Linked DNA regions of Homo sapiens: region 1 is linked to region 2. The links are contacts of gene promoters, found by promoter capture Hi-C in blood cells and fetal thymus (Javierre and others, 2016). All regions are on one chromosome and are shown on one strand. The core of a region is centred on a gene start or on the middle of the fragment in contact, and the rest is flanking DNA. Distances in the headings are between cores, read along the strand shown. Region 1 overlaps PEF1-AS1 (PEF1 and COL16A1 antisense RNA 1). Region 2 holds the start of ADGRB2 (adhesion G protein-coupled receptor B2).

Region 1 (4,198 bases), core at 131-2,630, 110 kb before region 2:
ATGTGACACACACTCATTTATTCCACAAACATATGATCCCATTGGGTTCCCACCTCTTGCCAGGCTCTGTTCTAGGTGATGAGAATCCAACTCCTATGAGAATTATTTGCCCCCATTCCCCTATGCCCAGCAAAGGGCTTAGGAGAACTATCTGTGGGAGGTCTGTGCTATTTCGTGGATGGAGCATCCACATCTTCTCTTAGGGAGTCAGGAACGTGCCAAAGCCAACAGCCAGGGCTGTGCCTCTGAGGACCCACACAGGCCCAGGTATGTTTGTTTTGGAGGGGGCTGGATAAAAGAGAGATCAGGATCTTCCTAAGACTGAAAAACAATCAACTCACTTCCAAAACCTCATCTACCTGAGGCAGACAGAGGTGGGTGGAGAAGTTCCTGTTATTGTTTCACTTGTAGCCCAAGGGGAAAGCATGGATTCCAGACTTTTTTTAGAACACAGAGCACTTTCCTGAGTTCGTGGAAGCCCTGCGGTTGACCCATTAGGGGTGAGGCAGAGCTTGGTAATGAAAAGCCCATCCACTGGAAAATATTGCCTCCCCTAGAGACACAGCCTCCCAGGAGCCACTTGGCTCGCACCAAGCTTCTGTAAGGCTTACTGAGAAGGAATACCAACACCCACCTAATTATTATGGAATTAATTCTCTTTGATTCCAACTAGATCCAGTTCTGAAATTTAAATTCCAGTTGGATGCTGTGGATCAGAGGATGATTTGCAACTTTCCACAGAAGCAACAGAGGAATGAGAACAGCAGACGTGGCAATTTGGCCACACTCCCCTTCCATTATGGGATCATAAGTAGAGTACGTTGACATCGTCTATTCCCATAAACTGTTCAGGACAGCCACAAAAAAGATCTAGTCCTTTGGGATCTCCAGCACCAAAAAAAAAAAAAAAAAAATATCCATGGCCGGGCACGGTGGCTCACATCTATAATCCCAGCACTTTGGGAGGCCGAGGCAGGCAGATCACCTGAGGTCAGGAGTTCAAGACCAGCCTAACCAACATGGTGAAACTCTGTCTCTACTAAAAATACAAAAATTAGCTGGGCATGGTGGCTTGTGCCTGTAGTCCCAGCTACTCCGGAGGCTGAGGCAGGAGAATCACTCGAACCCTGGAGGTGGAGGTTGAGTGAGCCAAGATCGCACCACTGCACTCCAGCCTGAGTGACAGAGTGAGACTCTGTCCCCCCACCTCCAAAAAAAAAAAAAACTAGTCTTGTAAAGGGGTTAACAGACCCCAGATGAAGAAAGAGTCTAATTAGATTCTGTTGAATTTGAGTGACAGAGGAAAATATTATGACAAAAAATGAAGATTTAAATTCCAGAAGCATCAAAGTTTAGATTTTTCTCTGCAGAATAAATACACAGCAGCCTTTTCTCCATCTTATTGAGCAGAGGGTTTCTCAAATTAAGGACCCTCCAGTCCCATCCTTCACACTGCCATCAGCGAACTCCCCACTCGGCAAACCTGACTTGACACACCTTTGTGAGAAACCCACCAGTGGCTTCCAACTGTCTTCCCTGCTCATGCTCCAAAATCCAATCACACTGTCCTGTCTCCCGTCACTCAGCCTGCTGCAACCAGTCATTTCTGGGCCTTGGCACGTGCTGTTCCCTCTGCCTGAATCCATCTCTTCGTCTAGACATGGTTAGGTTCCCCAGCTGTGCACTCCCCTGTACCTGGCACTGCCCTATCATCCCACTTTATTGTAGGTGCTTGTTTAACTGTCTGCTCTCCCTGTGGATGCTGTGGGAGCAGGGACCATATCTGTCTAGTTTGCCTTGGGATCCCCAGAGCCTAGTACAGTCCCTGGGACAAAGTAGGAAGAGGAATGGACTCATCAAGTTAGACTTTTCCAATCTGAATGATCTGTGTGCTGCCTGGAAAGCCTGGAGTAGGTTAAGAAATGAAGACAGAAGGATAATGGGGTTGGAACGTGCAAAAGCTGCCTAAGAGGAATGGACGACACATGCCCCTCCTTGCTTTCTCTTCAGCTTACCCAGCTCCTGAACTGATGAGCAAGATCCATGGATTTCTTGCTGACCACAGTAACAGAAGAGACTATAAAATTCAGCTTTCCATCTGGTTCTTCATGGTCCAAGAAAATACAGCAATTTCAAACTCCGGGGAGACATGCATTCAAATCATGAAAGCTTAAACCTAGCCTGTCGTAGAATCCCTTAAGAGTAGCATGAATTTGACTCAGGAAGAAAAGTGAAGAAGGCATCATTTACTCTATAAGGATCAATTCCCTGGTGACCCTTAAAGGGGATGAGTTGGATGTTTCCTCATAGCAGTTTTTCCCCTCTGGCCTTCAAAGCCAACCTGCTCAATTCCACAGCTGGTCCTTGCGTCTCTTTCTTTCTGCCAGCGCCAACATGCTCCTCATGAGAAGGCCTATCATCAGCTAGTACTCGGCAGACTAGGCTGAAAGAGGAAGCTGGCCTTCCAATGGGAGTGCTTTAACATCTGTCCTCTTCCACTGTCCAAAACCTGGCTGCTACTTCAGTACAAAAATGATGCCTTTGCTTTTTAATGTTTTATGTTAGAACCAGGGTTAACTGAGAATAGCTGGGGAGGGATGAAAAAAGAATCAGCGCCTCCTTTATCTAAAAACATCACATGAGACACTCGGGCATGCTCAGGAGTCTGATTTCATTCTTCTGGCCACCAGCACACCTTTGCTCCTGGCAGGAAAAAAAAAAATAGGGCAAAGGTTCTGAAAAGCCATCAATAGGCTGGTCTCCTGGTATTTGGGACCCAACTAGAGAAGGGAGTTTTCAGAAATGTGCTAGAAATACCAGCTCTGCAGAGATTTGACAGCCGGTTTGAAGGCTTCAGGCAGTTTGGATAAGCATCTAGACTTTGGGTACATTTCTGAGCCTGCTCTGTGAGTCCTTTGAAGTGTATCCAACTTGAATAAACCTTCCAGATAGCTGGGGCCAGTGAAAAAGCTTTCTTTGGAAATCCCCCTGGAAGTGCCTTGTTGCTTTCTCACAGGGCAGCCAGCCCATCAGGACAAGAGATCTAAAAAGTAGAGAAGGAAGAAGCTCAAGAGAGAATGTTTCTATAATATTCAATTCACTGTCTTTTTTCCCCTTCCTAGCCTTTTTTACATAGGGAGAAGGACACAACAGATAGATCACCAAACTCCCAGTGGACTTTGAGGACCGTGAGCTTAGATCTGCTCGTGGCTTGCCCATGAACTCTTTGTACTGATACAACCTGGCTGTTTCTAAAGGCCTAGGCTAAGATGTACAGGAAAAGTACCACGTATATTAGAATAATAAAGAAAAACAGGAGATGTTATTTGCCCTCCAGAAAGTCATTGCTGGAAGCACTTATAGAGAGCTAGTGACCATGCATTGGTACAGGCAGAAGGTTCCATCTCATTTCCCAGAGAAGCATTCCCTGGATGCCTAGGACAGAGCTGGAGCCTGTCTTCTCTCCTGTTTGCACAGGTATTCTAATCACAGAATTACTGGAGCATCAAGAAGTGCCTGCATGCTTGGAAGGGCTTCCAGGCAGATGAACACACCTCAGCACCGGGTGGCATTTTCCCAGGGTGCAACCCGGACCGGCTCTGGGTCACACTGACAAGGTGAAGTGGATGGGCAAAGAGTGGGTGGGGTACTGAACACGGGTTTCTTTAGGGAATCAAATAGGGAGGGACCTTTAAAGCAGGAAGTGGGACCTTCCAACGTGCTTTGGTTCACTTGAGAGAAGAGGCTGAGTGATGCTCCTTCTCTAACTCAAGAGACGTAGGCATGAAGAACAGGGCACAAGATCCCGAGGAGCAAAGGGTCATCAGCTGCCCCCATCCAGCAGAATCTCACAGCACCACTGGCTGACCACAGGCAAGGAGGGAAATACCCTTTATTTTTTAATTTTTATTTTTCGGAGACTGAGTCTCATTATGTTGCTTAGACTGGTCTCAAACTCCTGGGCTCAGGCGATCCTCCCACCTCAGCCCCTTGAATAGCTAGGATTACAGGTATATGCCCCTGTACCCAAAATGCCCTTTTTTGTTCCTGGGACTAAACGGGAAAAGGAGGGCAACAGGGAGCTCTGGCTGCAGCACCAGAGGAACCCACTGGAAGGGAAAGGGCAGATAGTTTTGTTTCTTTATTATTTAAAAAATATTAACAGCAATTAAAAACAACAACAACAACAAAAAAAACA
Region 2 (4,088 bases), core at 1,483-3,982:
GTGGGAAGTTGCAGGACCAAGGAGGAGATGAGGGAAACTGACAGTCACTGGCTCCCCCTGCACCCATACTTTGGGGGAAAAGTGGAGACTGGGGGCTAAAGGTGTTTCTGTCTTTATTATACTGGGGGTTGGAGTGAAGGCACTGGAACCTGTTTTTCATTTTTCTCCTTTGGGATTAGGAGTGGAGTGGAGAGGGGCCTGACCTTGGCCTTGAACAGAAACAGCCCCACACCCCTATCAATATTGAGCATTGCTAGGTGCCAGACACTCTATACAAACAACCTAACTTCATTCTCCCAACAGCTATATGAGGCAGTGATCACTGACCCATTTTATAGAGGGTCAACTGAGGCTCAGAAAGATTAAGTAGCTTGCCCATGTCACACAGCTTTTGAACGTAGGTCGTCTGACCGAAAGCTGAATTCCTAACTACTTACTCAGCTTCATTACTTGGGGGTGGGAAGGGAGGGAGGGATGGGGGCAGATACCAGATGGAACCTCACTTTGTGTTACAGAAATGCAGACCACGCACGCACACCCCAGACTAGACATGTCCTTTTGAAGAGTGATACAGAAAGGGGGCAGAAGAGAGAGCGGAAGGAGGAGAGAGGGAAGAAGAGGGGAAGATCTCTTCTCTCAATCTTGGTCCAGAGAAGACCCTCCCTAACCTCCCCACTACCATCACCAGGACATATCCTGCGCAGAGTCCACACTGCCCCTCACCCCAGTAGCAGTGCAGAGGATACTCCCCAGGTGCTTGCTCTGTCCCAGGGTCAGGTGGATTCCCCCACAACCGACTCCATGCGCAAGCCAGGCAGAGCCCACCTTTGCCCCCAGCCCTCACCTCATGGGAAATGCCATGGGGTAGAGGCTCTCTGGCAACACCTGACCAAGCACAAACAAGCCCAACCAGGCGTCCTGGAGCCCGCGGCCAATCCTGCTGGTCTGTACGTGAAGGCTCAAAGGACTCTTGACTTGCTGCTGGGGTGAGCCCTCCACCCCACCCCAACCCATCCCACCCCCAGAACATATGGCCTGACAACCAGGAGTGTTTGGGCATGGCTAGCACGAGGAGGCACCTGGCCTGGCCCACCAATCTCCTCTCCCCAGGGATTTCCCAGCGTCAGTCCTGCAGCCACCGCTGATGCTCTGGCTGCGGAAACCCGGGGTTGCCCGCGGGAGAAGGGGTGGCGGGTCCCAGGCTTCGGGCAGGGGGCGCCAGAGGACGCCCAGGAGCCCGGCCGGCAGCTGGCGAGGCGGGCAGGCAGGCGGCATCTCTCGGCCCGGGCGCCCCTCCCCCCGGCGGGCAACAGACCCGTCGCCTGCTCTGCACGGGCCGCGGCGCGGAGGACTTCCCCCGGCTGTGCCCTCGGACCAAGCTGACTGCGGGAGTGGCCGCCAACTTCACAGCCTACAACCCCCTCCGGATCATGCCGGCCCTGGGGCTGCGGGAGGGTGCGTCTGGTGCCCAGCTCTATGACCAGGGGTGGGAGGATAGGGATGGGGGATGGACAGATAGACTCCGGCCAAAGATGGACACGGGAGTCAGGGATGCGGGTCCAGTCGGGATCTCAGCTGGAGGGGAGGGGGCGCGGAGCAGACACGGGGGACACGGCCCCAATTCCAAGCTGAGGGGAGGGGACTTGCAGCAAGATTGGCGAGGGAAGGCGGGACTCCGGTCAGATAGATATGGGGGAGGGGGCGCTAGGGGCAGAAATAGAGAAGAAGCATGGTCGGGGTACAGGCGCGGGGGAGGGTAGAAACTATGGGCAGACATGGATGGGGACAGGAAAGACTCCGGGCAGTGATGAAGTGGAGGAGAGGAGCAGGGTCCGGCATTCAGACCGTGACGGGAAATAGAGGGGGAGACACAGTTGAGCTGCAGGTTAATGGGGGGGCTCTAATAAAGGTGGGGGGCACACTGCCCGGATCCAGGCCGAGATAGGGAAAGACTCGAGACAGCAAGCACGGTCTGTGTCAGAATTCTGGAGGGGGAGACTTTAGCATAGATGGGTAAGAGGGTCGGTCCAGGCTGGGGGAGGGGGGGGGCCGAGATTAGAGATTCACCAGCGATTAAGGGGGCCTCGGCCCTAGGTTTGGGAGTTCCCCAGAAGATGGGGGTGGGCGAACGCTGAACGAACTCAGTTCGGGCTGGGGGAGAATTCAGCAGAGACGGGTTAGGAGAGCGCCCCGAGTCCGGGCCGGTGCGGAAACTCGGGACCGCGCCGGCAGGGCTCGGTGCGAGGCCAGGTCGGGGTCTGGGGCCGAGCACTCACCTGGGCGCCGTCAGCAGCAGGAGCGGGGGCCGGCGCTGGCGGGGGCGGCCACGGGGCGCAAGTTTGCCATCCCTAAGTCGGGGACCGGGCCGGGCGCAGGGTAGGTAGCTGCAGCCGCGCGGAGGGCCGAGGCTCCCGCTCTCCCGGGCGGCGGGTGCAGAAAAGGCGCCGCGGAGCAGCGCGGGGCGGGCGGGCGGGCGGCGCCGGGCCGGGCGCGGGCTCCTGCCGCCGCCGCCGCCGCCGCCTCCTTGCCGCGCCGCCCCCCGCTCCCCCGCTCCCCCGCCCCGAGCACCGCCCGCGCCGCGCGCCGCCTCCTATTTGCGGGCGGCGGCCGCAGCCCCGGGCTCTGAGAGCCGGTGCCGCATCCTCTTCGGTCTCTGAGCGCCGCCGCCGCTGCCGCCGAACCCGGTTCCTCCGGCCGCTCCGGCCGCTGCCCGCAGCGCGCGCCGGGCCGAGTGACGGCCGAGGCGGGACGCGGCGCCTGCGCGGGCCGGGCCCGGGAGGGGGCGCGCGCCGGGCCGGGCGCGAGGAGCCGCGGGAGAAGGGGCGGGGGCGACGCGCGCCGCCTCCTGTTAAAGGGGGAACAGCGCCAGCCGAGCCGATCGTGCCCCCCACCTCCCCGCCTTGGGCCCCAGGCGCCGGCGCGGGAGAAGCCCTGGGTAAGCCCCCGCCCAGCCCGCTGCTTCTTGGACCGCAGAATGAGGCGATCCGCGACGCCCCTCCAGCTATACCCATGCCGGAGGCTTGTCGCGCCGCCAGGGTGTCCCGGGCCCTGCAGGCTGAAGCATTTGCTCACCTTCCCATGTGCATTGCATATTGCATGTCCCTGTGCATGCAGGTGCCAGTCATGTGCGCTGAACTTTGCATATGCATACAGGTGCCCTAAGTGTGCACTGCCATGTTGCCTGGGTAGGTGCATGCAAGTGCCACACACATGCACGGTGTATTAACATGTGCCCAAGTCCTGAATGCATGTTGCTTGTTCCTGTGCGCAGGGATGTTATATGTATGCAAGCTTACAGGTGCCACATGTGTGCTGAGGACTGTGGGTAACTCATGTAGCAGCCACATATGTATACTGCAATGTGACATGTTTGATGCATACTGTAAACTGCAATGTTGCACGTCCTTAGGCACGGGGATGCTACACGTGTGCAGTGTGTTACATGTTTTCCTGAGTCCCTGTCTATTCCCACAAGTGCCTTTCCCTGTGCCAGGGGCGCCCCCATGTTGCATCTGTTTGTGTAGAAGCAGCAGAGATGTACAGACCCACCCCTTCCCCATCTTGGCACTAAGCCCAGAAACAGTTGGGTGGGGCCTGAGCCCTCATGGTTCAGGCGGTACACAGGGAGATGCCCATGGTTCAGGGCTCTGGTCAGGCAGTTTGTGGCCTGGGCATGTTGCCATCAGTAAGGTAGGCCGACCAGGGACGCACCATTGCAGCCAACACAAGTAGGTTAATCCCATGGCTTTGGTCAGAGGAGAAACCAGCAGGGGGCAGCTTTGCAATAAGGGTGGGATGGTTTCAGCTTTGCGATGAGGGTGGGATGGTTTCAGGACCATACTTTTTGAAGGTTCACTAGCCAGGAAGGGCCAAATTTTCAGTGCAAAGAAGTCCTCATTTCAGCAAATACCAACCCCACCTCTCCACTGATGCCCCTTAAGTTGTGGCACCCTCAAGATGGGGCAAGAAGAGAAAAGCCTACCTCTTCCCAGGGGCAGTACCAGGAAGAGGCATAGAACCGCCCTCTTTTCCCTCCTTCTGTCCCTCCCACCTCCAGCAGCCTCGGTGACATTTGTTGTGAGTGATTG

What was found. The method cuts DNA at HindIII sites, captures the fragments that hold promoters and counts their contacts. A CHiCAGO score of 5 or more calls a contact.
Region 1: a fragment that was not itself captured here is called in contact with the fragment with the promoter of ADGRB2 in region 2 in 1 of 17 cell types (endothelial precursors); the score reaches 6.3 in endothelial precursors.

Annotation. Positions count from the first base shown.
Region 1 is chr1:31,648,372-31,652,569 of GRCh38, forward strand. PEF1-AS1 (PEF1 and COL16A1 antisense RNA 1) reads left to right here. Exons shown (of 6, transcript NR_184313.1): 3 at 3,478-3,617. It overlaps COL16A1 (collagen type XVI alpha 1 chain), which reads right to left. Exons shown (of 71, transcript NM_001856.4): 71 at 3,892-4,198. Among named protein-coding and RNA genes, the nearest start is that of PEF1, 5.6 kb to the left of the region's middle. The HindIII fragment of the contact is 1,574 bases long and covers 594-2,167 here.
Region 2 is chr1:31,761,608-31,765,695 of GRCh38, forward strand. ADGRB2 (adhesion G protein-coupled receptor B2) reads right to left here and starts at 2,733. Exons shown (of 33, transcript NM_001364857.2): 1 at 2,277-2,733. RefSeq lists an enhancer at 351-1,204 and a silencer at 1,146-1,415. The HindIII fragment of the contact is 4,434 bases long and covers 1-3,289 here.